Regions from separate parts of the Homo sapiens genome. Here region 1 is linked to region 2. Evidence: promoter capture Hi-C in human tissues and cell types (Jung and others, 2019). All regions are on one chromosome and are shown on one strand. The core of a region is centred on a gene start or on the middle of the fragment in contact, and the rest is flanking DNA. Distances in the headings are between cores, read along the strand shown. Region 1 overlaps TMCO4 (transmembrane and coiled-coil domains 4). Region 2 holds the start of RNF186 (ring finger protein 186).

Region 1 (5,157 bases), core at 1,510-4,009, 33 kb after region 2:
TTGCACAGGACATTTAAGCTTGTCCAATCTTCGGCCTGTGGGCCACATATAGCCCAGGACAGCTTTGAATGCGGCCCAACACAAATTCATAGACTTTCTTAAAACATTATGAGGTTGTCTTGCGAAATTTTTTTTTTTTTTTTTTTTTTTTAGTGCATCAGCTATCATTTAATGTTAGTGTATTTCATGTGTGGCCCAAACCAATTCTTCTTCCAGTGTAGCCCAGGGAAGCCAAAAGATTGGACACCCCTCTTAGGCCATCATACCAAGATTGGAATTTATCCTGATGTGATGGGAGGCTTTTGCAGGCTTTTAAGCAACCTAGTGACATGACTGGTCTATGTGACAAAAAGGTCACTGAGGCCACTATGTAGAGAATGCATTGTAGGGCATCAGGAGAAATTGTGTTGAATGAATGAATGAATTTGGTCTGAGTTTAGCTTTATTATTATTATTATTTTGTTAGATGGAGTCTTGCTCTGTTGTCCAGACTGGAGTGCAGTGGCACAATCTCAGCTCACTGCAACCTCTGCCTCCCAGATTCAGGTGATTCTCCTGCCTCAGCCTCCCGAGTAGCTGGGATTACAGGCACACCCAACCATGCACAGTTAATTTTTGTATTTTTAGTAGAGACGGGGTTTCACTATGTTGGCCAGGCTGGTCTCAAACTCTTGACCTCAAGTGATCCACCCGCCTCGGCCTCCCAAAGTGCTGGGATTACAGGCGTGAGCTACCGCGCCCAGCCTGAGCTTAGCCTTTTGTACTCTAGACACATCCTCATACCTCTGTGGTTAGAAGCAGGCCAGCTTACCCTTCCCTGATCAGAAAGCTGTTTATTATTGAGCTAAGAACTGGCGTGGGGCTTCCCAGATACCAGTTCAGTAAAATACTACCTTGGGCTCCTCTGAGTAATAGGTGCGATCAATATAGCCTCCAAGTGGCACGTGGAGTTGATTAAATGTAGTGGAAATTTCTGACCTGCTGACATCAGGCTAGTGCTGCCCTTGGCACTGCCCTTAGTTCATGGTTTATGCTGTTGCCCCTGTTCCCACCACCATGGTCTGAGCTGACCCTCTGAGCCAGGGAAATTTGCTGCAAATCTCAAACGTGGGTTCCTAGAGCAACCATTGAGGCCAGTCTTGCTGGGTGACTTTGGGCGAGGTCTTAACCTCTCTGGGCCTCCGTTTCTCCATCTGAAACAGGGGAAATAAGATCCCTGTGCTGGTGTAGAGGAAAGAGCTCAAGGTTTGGAGTCAAAAGTCTGGTTTGGATCTCATCACTTACTGTGTAAGTTTGGGAAAATTGCTTGGTCTTTCTGAGCCTGTTCCTCGGTTGTAAGAGGGAATCGTAATGGTTCATGTCCTACTTAACTTTACATGGTAGTTATAAGAATTAAGCAGACTGGAAAATGCTTTGTAAACAGTTATGTGCTGTAAAAGTGTTGGTTTGTTGCTTTGAACTACCTCAGGGTTGTTTTGAAAACAAATGAAATATTAGTTGTGGACAGACTTTTAAATAACTCCTCTACAGAAGTAATATTTTGAGAACAAAAATTTTTATTGCTCAGCTAGATGGGAACAAACTTATGAACAAATAACTGTTTGGAGTGTGGTTATTAGACTAGAAGACTCCTGGCCATGTGATGAATATTTAAAACAGAGTTGGTGGCCAACAGTTCTGTCTTTGGGCCCTATATGTCTGCCATTGACTGGCTGTATCAGGGGAGCCCAGTTACTTCTCTGAGCCTGTTTCCTAATTTGCAAACTGAACATTACAGTCCTACTTGCCTCTAGAGTCTGCTGAGACAATGCATGTTAAAATTGCAACCCCAGTGCCCTACACCCAGTAATAACTCAGTAATGTTAGGTCTTGTTATTATTAAACCTTTGCTATGTGCCAGGCACCATGCCAAGCATTTTACTTATTTGTTTGTTGATCATTTTGTGCCTTTATTTTTTAAACAAGCATTTATATAGCATGAACCCTGTGCCAGGCTCTATTCTAGGTGCTTTACGAGTACTAAGCCACATGGGCTGTGTCCTTTACTACTGACACAGCTCTTCTAGGTAGATACTGTATGGTCCCATCTGTAGGTGAAGAAATCTAAGTACAGAGAGGTTGAGTTGCCTAGGGTCCCATATCTAATAAGTGGCGGTGCTTGTTTTCACGCCCAGGTCTGTCTGGTCCTGAGCCTGCATTCATATCCTTGATCCCCTGTAGTAGAGGCTGGCACCCTTCCCTGTACCCTTCCTGGTGGCTCCCAGGGTTCTTTCTGCTTCTTGGATGCCTTCTTGGCGTGTCCCCTCTCTCCTTTTCTCTCCCTCCTCTTCCTACTCTTCTCCTCCCTTTCCCTTTTCCCCCTGGGAAGGAAGGAAAGAATAGAGGGAAGGAAAAGAAGGAGGGAGAACAAAGAGGAGACCTTCCTCCCTTTTTTTCCTTCTTCCTTCCTTCCTTTGAGGTATACCATACACAAAGTGCATAAATATTAACTATACAGTTCAGGGAATTTTTAAATATATTTATACCCATATGATGACCACCCAGGTCAAGATAGAGATCATTTCCTTCACCCAGAAACCTCCTTTGTACCCATTCTGAGCCAATACTCCCTCCCACATGTAACCCCTCATCTGACTTCCATCACCATACATTGGGTTTAGCATTTTTCAGTTTCATATAAAGGGAATCCCATGGTAGGTACTCTCTCGTGAATGGCTTTCTGTGTATCATTTTGTCTGAGATTCATTCATGTTTGCTGTAGTTCATTCCCTTTCCATTGCTGTGTAATGTTTCACAGTATGAATATGACCATTTATCCATTCTACTGTGATAGACGTGTGGGTTGTTGCCAGTTTGGGACTATTGTGAATGAAGTTGCTGTGAGCATTCATGTATGTGTCTTTTCGTGACTTAAGTCCTCATTTCTCAGGAGTGGAATTGCCAGAGCATAGGGAAGACATATGTTTAGCTTTAGTGGATATTGTCAAACCATTTTCCAAATAGTTATACCAATGTACACTCCCACCAGCAGTGTATGAAAGTTCTGTTTGCAGCCAGGCGTGGTGGCTCATGCCTGTAATCCCAGCACTTTGGGAGGCCAAGGCGGGCGGATCACGAGGTCAGGAGATGGAGACCATCCTGGCTAACACAGTGAAACCCCGTCTCTACTAAAAATACAAAAAGTTAGCCAGGTGTGGTAGTGGGCGCCTGTAGTCCCAGCTACGCGGGAGGCTGAGGCAGGAGAATGATGTGAACCCAGGAGGCGGAGCTTGCAGTGAGCCAAGATCGTGCCACTGCACTCCAGCCTGGGCGACAGAGCGAGACTCCATCTCAAAAGAAAAAAAAAAAAAAAAAAGAAAGTTCTGTTTGCTCTTCATCCTCACCAGCACTTGGTATTCTCAGTCTTTTTAGTTTTAGCTATTCTGATAGGTGAGAGTTAGTGTCTCATTGGGATTTTAATTTCCATTTCTCTGATGACTAACGATGTTGAACATCTTTTCATACTTATTGGCTATTGGGTTTTTTTTTTTTTTAAGAGACAGGGTTTCATTCTCTAGCCCACGCTGGAGTGCAATGATCATAGCTCATTGCAGCCTTAAACTCCTAGGCTTAAGCAATCCTCTCACCTTAGCTTCCTAAGTAGCTGGAACTACAGGCGTGTGCCACCATGCCCAGCTAATTATTTTATTTTATTTTTCTGTAGAGATGGAGTCTCACTATGTTGCCCAGGCTGGTCTTGAACTCCTGGGCTCAATCAGTCCTCCTACCTCGGCTTCCAAAAGTGCTGGGATTAGAGGCATGAGCCACCATACCTGGCCTGAGGAATATCTTTTTTTTTTTTTTTTTTTTTTTGAGATGGAGTCTCGCTCTGTCAGCCAGGCTGGAGTGCCGTGGCGCGATCTCGGCTCACTGTGGAATCTCTTTTATGAAGTATCTATTCAAGTCTTTTGCCCATTTTTAAATTTGCTTCGTTTCTTTTTCTTAATGACTTACTGGAGTTAGTTGTTTGGATACTGTGTATAGACCTTTGTGGATAGACATATTGAAGATCCCTCCCTCCATCCTGGTCTGTAGTGTGTGTTCTCACTCTCCTAAAGGTGATGAAAAGAAGTTCTTCATTTTAATGATGCCTACTTTATCAACCTTTTATGGTTTGTAAGTTCTGTGTCATGCTTAAGTAACCTTGGCTTACCTCTGGAAGCATTTCTCACTGGGAATTTTCTCCTGCAGCGCTGGGAATGGCCATGTGGAACAGGCCATGCCAGAGGCTGCCTCAGCAGCCTCTGGTAGCTGAGCCCACTGCAGAGGGGGAGCCACACCTGCCCACGGGCCGGGAGCTGACTGAGGCCAACCGCTTCGCCTATGCTGCCCTCTGTGGCATCTCCCTGTCCCAGTTATTTCCTGAACCCGAACACAGGTGAGTTCTTCTGTCTTGCAGTGGGAAGGTCATGCTTCTTCAGGGGAACAACTACGGACAGCCAAACAGCCTGCCAGGCACGATGAGGCAATGCAGAGAGGGGCAAGTCATTGTCCTTGCCTCTAACGCAGGGGTCTCTAACCTCCAGGCCGTGGACCAGTACTGGTCTGTAGCCTGTTAGGAACCTGGCCGCACAGCAGGAGGTGAGTGGTGGGTGAATGAGAATTACTGCCTGACCTCTGCCTCCTGTTCTAAGCATTTTATGAATACTAAGCCACATGGGCTGTGTCCTTTGCTACTGACACAGCTCTTCCAGGTCCACACTGTATGGTCCCATCTGTAGATGAAGAAATCTAAGTGCAGAGAGGTTGAGTTGTGGCAGCATTAGATTCTCATAGAAGCTCAAACCCTATCGTGAACTGCGCACGCGAGGGATCTAGGTGGCACGCTTCTTATGAGAATCTAACTAACGCCTGATGATCTGAGGTGGAACAGTTTCATCCTGAACCCTACCTGCGCCGGGTCCCTGGAAAAATTGTCTTCCCTGAAACCAGTCCCTGGTGCCAAAAAGGTTGGGGACTGCTGCTCTAAGGAACTCACAATCTGGTGGGGGGATAAGACATCCCCTCATTCAGTTATTCACTCATTTATACCTTCACCGAACATTTTTTGAGCACTTACTGTATTCCAGGTATGATTTGAAGTACATGGAGGGTAAATGTGAATGAGACAGATACCAT
Region 2 (5,454 bases), core at 2,955-5,454:
TGTTTTATTTGGAGATTTGGAAGGATTCGTGCATGCTTCGGGATTCTAATGTTGCAGTAAGCACAAATAGAACATGGAGAAGAATGTGAAACCTAGATGAATTTAACATTTTAAGTCTCCGGAGACACTTTTGAATTCCCCTGGGGTAGATCTGCTTCAGGCTCCACCTCAGACTCTGCCCATATTCACTCCTCTTCAAGAAGCATTGGCCGAATCAGTCACCAAAGTGTCTTATCTCATGTCCCTGGAAGAGATCAATTTCACCTAGGTCAGTTACAACCCAAAGTACATAAATTACTAAGCCTCCTGTGAGCAGGTTGTAGTCAGGGGTGGAGGGCTTAAATAATCCATAATTTCCTCAAGTGTTAACGTCTCCATTTTGTTTTATTTTATTTTATTTACTTTTTTTTAAATACAGAGTGTCACTCTGTCACCCAGGCTGGAGTGCAGTGGCACGATCTTGGCTCACGCAACTGCGACCTCCCAGGCTCAAGCTATCCTCCTGCCTCGGCCTCCCAAGTAGCTGGGGCTACAGGTATGCACCACCAGGCCCAGCTATTTTTTGTATTTTTAGTAGAGATAGGGTTGCACCTCATTGCCCAGGCCGGTCTCGAACTCCTGAGCTCAAGCGATCCACCCACCTCTGCTTCCCAAAGTGCTGGGATTACAGGCTTGAGTCACTGTGCCCGGCCTCCATTTTATCAAATTTTAAAACTGAACTGCAGTGAAGTTAAAATTCTTGCCCAAGGTCACATAGCTGGTAAAGTGACAGGAGCCAGATTTCCAGCTATAGTCAGTGCTGGTGATAGTTAAGGCAAGGCACTTTTGAGAAACAAAGTTGTTCCTAAGCCAAGATGGTAGGAGGAGGACAACAGGAAGGAATGCTCTGTTAACAGTGGTCATTTCTCAGGGGTTGCAGTAAGATGAACTTTCACATTCTACTTTATTTCTGTAATACTTGGGTTGTTCCAGCCAATATGTTTTCTTAACGGTGGTTGCCCAATGATGTTAAAAGGTTATTTTTTAGGCTCTAACCCCAAATAACTTCCCTTGGTCTGATTTCAACCTCACTCAGCTACCTTCTGACAATTTGATTTCCCATTAAGCTGGCTAGAGAGAGAGGCACTGGCCGGCTGGGTGAAGCGGCTCATGCCTGTAATCCTAGCATTTTGGGAGGCTGAGGCAGGTGAATCACCTGAGGTCAGGAGTTTGAGACCGATCTGGCCAACATAGTGAAAGCCCATCTCCACTAAAAATACAATATTAGCCGGGTGTGGTGGCACACGCCTGTAGTCCCAGCTACTCAGGAGGCTGAGACAAGAGAATCGCTTGAGCCCGGGAGGCAGAGGTCGCACTCCAGCCTGGGCAAGACAGAGCGAGACTCTATCTCAAAAAAAAGTGAGAGGGACACTGGCCAAGCCAACATCACTGTGTGGCCCACCTGATTTTCTATTCTTATTATAAATGAATGTGGCTCAACACATTTTTCTCCTCTCATCCCTAATCCATCCTAGGGTCTCACAAACAGAAAATAACATTATGCAATGCAAGTCCAAGCAGAGAAAACACAGAATCTCTTCTAGCATGGTAACACACAGGCATTCGGTCACTCTTGTCCGTGTACAAAGTCTGGTTGTCTCATCAATGCCTGACCCTTTGTCAGAGAGCAAGTAAAGGCTTCTTTTCTTCATCCATTGCTGTGTTACATAGAGGTCTTTCACTTGCAAGGGACAGAAGTTCAATTTGAACTGACTTAAGAATAAAAATCAGGGTAGATTTTATAGGTTAATATCCTTGAAAAAATCCAATGCTAGGTGTCCTGCTTCAGGTGTTCAAATAACATCATCAGGCCTTTGTCTGATTCTTTTCTCATTTTTCTTTTGTGCTGACCTTACTCTTGAGCAGGTTCTCTGCACACTGTGGTCCTGGCAGCCCCAGGGTTCCATCCTCTAACTTAGAAACCCAGCACAAAGAGAAACTTCTCAAGGGCTCCAACAGAAGTCTCAGAATTGAATCTCATTGGCTTGGCTTCGATTATATGCCTACGCTCAAACCAATGGCTGCAGCTAGCAGAGCAGAGCATGCTAACTGGCCTGTCCTGAATTGTATCAGGGCCCCACTTCCAGAGAGCTGGAGCCAGACATCACCCTCTCCGTGAGCACAGAATGACGGTGGGAAGCAGTGGTTGCCCAAAGTGAAAACAGAGAACTGTTACCCAAAAAAGGGGAAAGAATGCTAGGCATGGGGGAAAAAACATGCCTAGATCCAAGGCCACCTTCAGCTTGATCTGGGGGAAAACGTGATATAGATGTGTATCTATACCTTAGTATCTGAGACAGGTCTCAGTTAATTTAGAAAGTTTATTTTGCCAAGGTTGAGGACACATGTCCGTGACACAGCCTCAGGAGGTCCTGATGACATGTGCCCAAGGTGGACAGAGCACAGCTTGGTTTTATACGTTTTAGAGGGACATGAGACATCAATCAACATATGTAAAATGAACATTGGTTCCATCTGAAAAGGTGGAGCAACTTGAAGCAAAGGCAGGAAGACCTGAAGTGGGGAAGGGGCTTCCAGGTCACAGGTGGATAAGAATGGTTACATTCTTTTGAGTTTCTGATTAGCATCTCCAAAGGAGGCAATCAGATATGCATTTGTCTCAGTGAGCAGAGAGGTGACTTTGAATAGAATGGGAGGCAGGCTGGCCCTAAGCAGTTTCCAGCTTGACTTTCCCTTGTGGCTTAGTGATTTTGGGGCCCCACGATTTATTTTCCTTTCACAGAGGTAACTGATGGTCTAGCTACAGGTTGAGAAGAAATGGGATGGGATGGTGAGAGTATTGGATTTCAGAGATAGAGGGCCCAGGGGGAGTGGGGAGGTGGGAGTTACCGATCCCACAAGGGAGGGAGCCCCTTTGGGGCTGGTGACTCCAGGACACAGAGGGTGGCCTGCAGTGCCAGCTACTGGGGTAAGGGAAAGAGCTGAATCAGAGGCACAGGACTCTGTGTGGCCCTTGGCAGGTGACATGAGCACCAAAGGATCCTTCACACGGGCTTCTGAGTTCAGAGTGGCCTGAATGAAACATTTGTTTGAGGGAGTGCACATGCCACCCCGCCATTTGCCCTTGAGGGCAAAGTAAGGAAATCACGTTTTCCTAACTGCTGTGTTACTAATATCTGCCTGTCTCACATGAGTCCTCTTAGCCTACGCCACCCGGCTGGGGCCAGTTGTGTCCAAATGAACCAATGAAATTGATTCAACCAGACCTTGGACGCTGGTAGATTCCACAAGGTCCTGCTCCATGGAAGGCCCCTTGGCAGGCAGCCAGCAGCCTACCCTGACCACACCCTGCCCTTGTTTCCCAGCCTTCCCTACAAGGCTGTATCAGGGTTCCGGGAAATGGGGGCTGGGGACCCCGGGCACAGGGCTTGGCTTAGAGTAGGCCCAAATAAATGGCAGCTGTTCTTAGTACTACTGGATACGCAGCATGCCTAGCACAAAACAGGACACCTGTGATTAGGCATGTGAAGTGTGCAGCAGGGCACCGATGGGAAGTTCATACACCCGTAACTGTGAATACAACAGCTGTGGCTCTAAGGAAATGAATACAGTAGCAGGTGCCAAACACCTGTGCGCTGTATGTGGTTTTGTTTTTCTGCGTTGGGTTGGGCTTTGTCCTCCTTCCACTCACTTTTCTTACCTCTCCCCTCCTCTTTCCAAGGCCACCTGCCTGTAAATGTGCTCCAAGTGCAAACAAACTTTTTTCCACTCATCCTGACATCCAAAAGTTTGTGTCTGAGAAAGCAGTGTCCACCAATCCACCTATGTCCGACTCATAGGGCTGTCTGTTTATTGTGCAGATTTGTAGATGCCAGTGAGCCAAGATCGGGCCACTGCACTCCAACCTGAGAGAACGAGACTCCGTCTCAAAAAAAAAAAAAAAAGTTAAATAAAAAAAATTAATAAAAGGTTCAGGGACCTGGGAAGTGGGGGTGAGAGAGTTGGATTCTGCTGCCTCCTAAAGCTTGAGCCACAGTTCTGTGGGCACCCACCAGGTACCTGGCCCCAACAGGAAAGTCCTGATTCACTAGACCCTTGCCCACTTTGCCCTCCTATCAGGCAATTCAAAGTCTCCAGACCCGCAAGTTACTGATTAACCCTAGGTTTTGAGAAAATAAATAATAATAACTGAAGGGACGACGTAAGCCAAGAAACAAGCTGGGCAGCTCTGGGAGAGAGGAGTGTCAGACAGCTGTTGTCAACAGGCACCTGGCCAGAGTGAAAAGGAGGGGCAGATTCCATCCAAGTCCCAGCGGCGCCAGCTGACACTCTCTGCCAATGCCCAGGTGCTGAGCGACAGTGTCCCACCGGTCCCTGTGCCCAGAATGGCCTGCACCAAGACCCTGCAACAGTCCCAGCCCATCTCCGCAGGAGCCACCACAACCACCACCGCTGTGGCCCCTGCTGGGGGTCATTCTGGCTCCACAGAATGTGACCTGGAGTGTCTGGTGTGCCGGGAGCCCTACAGCTGTCCCCGGTTGCCCAAGCTGCTGGCCTGCCAGCATGCCTTCTGCGCCATCTGCCTGAAGCTCCTGCTGTGCGTGCAGGACAACACCTGGTCCATCACCTGCCCGCTGTGCCGCAAGGTCACCGCCGTCCCCGGGGGCCTCATCTGCAGCCTGCGCGACCATGAGGCGGTGGTGGGGCAGCTGGCCCAGCCATGCACAGAGGTATCGCTCTGTCCTCAGGGGCTGGTGGATCCTGCTGACTTGGCAGCAGGACACCCCAGCTTGGTGGGAGAGGATGGACAGGATGAAGTAAGTGCAAACCACGTGGCAGCCCGGCGCCTGGCCGCGCACCTACTCCTGCTGGCCTTGCTCATTATCCTCATCGGGCCCTTCATCTACCCGGGTGTCTTACGATGGGTGCTCACCTTCATCATCGCCCTGGCCCTGCTGATGTCCACCCTCTTCTGCTGTCTCCCCAGCACCCGGGGCAGCTGCTGGCCCTCCTCCAGGACTCTCTTCTGCAGAGAGCAGAAACACAGCCACATCTCTTCCATTGCCTGAGTGCCCTCTGATGAGGCTATCCCTGCAGCCCTTTCTGCCCTTGGGCCCCCGGACTTCCACAATGAACAGGGTAAGGGGTTACGGACTAAGACTGGCTCCTTTGGGAAATCACATGCCAGCGGGACTTGCAAGCCACAACCGAGATGGCCAGCCTGGGTCAAGAATTACACGCTTGGATGACAGGCTTGCACTTGCCCTTGGGATAGCATAGCTAAAACTGTTGGTGGCTAGGGGAGCAGACACAAACTACTTGAACATGACAAGATGGGGGAAGCTCCTGTTCCTCTTATTCCAATGTTCTTGGTTTTTCTTTATATAACTTGATGAAAGTATTGCAGTATTGATGCCATTGTAGAATAGAACTGGAATTCCATTCTTTTTGCAA

The links. Contacts are between HindIII fragments. The study calls those that stand out against the background at their distance.
Region 1: a fragment that was not itself captured here is called in contact with the fragment with the promoter of RNF186 in region 2 in 1 of the 25 tissues and cell types used here (pancreas).

What each region holds. Positions count from the first base shown.
Region 1 is chr1:19,779,840-19,784,996 of GRCh38, reverse strand. It overlaps TMCO4 (transmembrane and coiled-coil domains 4), which reads left to right. Exons shown (of 16, transcript NM_181719.7): 4 at 4,231-4,417. The coding sequence starts at 4,239. Among named protein-coding and RNA genes, the nearest start is that of TMCO4, 17 kb to the left of the region's middle. RefSeq lists an enhancer at 4,376-4,877. The HindIII fragment of the contact is 8,610 bases long and covers 1-5,157 here.
Region 2 is chr1:19,814,033-19,819,486 of GRCh38, reverse strand. RNF186 (ring finger protein 186) reads left to right here and starts at 4,204. Exons shown (of 1, transcript NM_019062.2): 1 at 4,204-5,454. The coding sequence starts at 4,386. The coding sequence ends at 5,069. RNF186-AS1 (RNF186 antisense RNA 1) reads right to left here and starts at 5,078. Exons shown (of 2, transcript NR_186008.1): 1 at 4,934-5,078; 2 at 1-244. RefSeq lists an enhancer at 2,212-2,743. The HindIII fragment of the contact is 3,016 bases long and covers 1,986-5,001 here.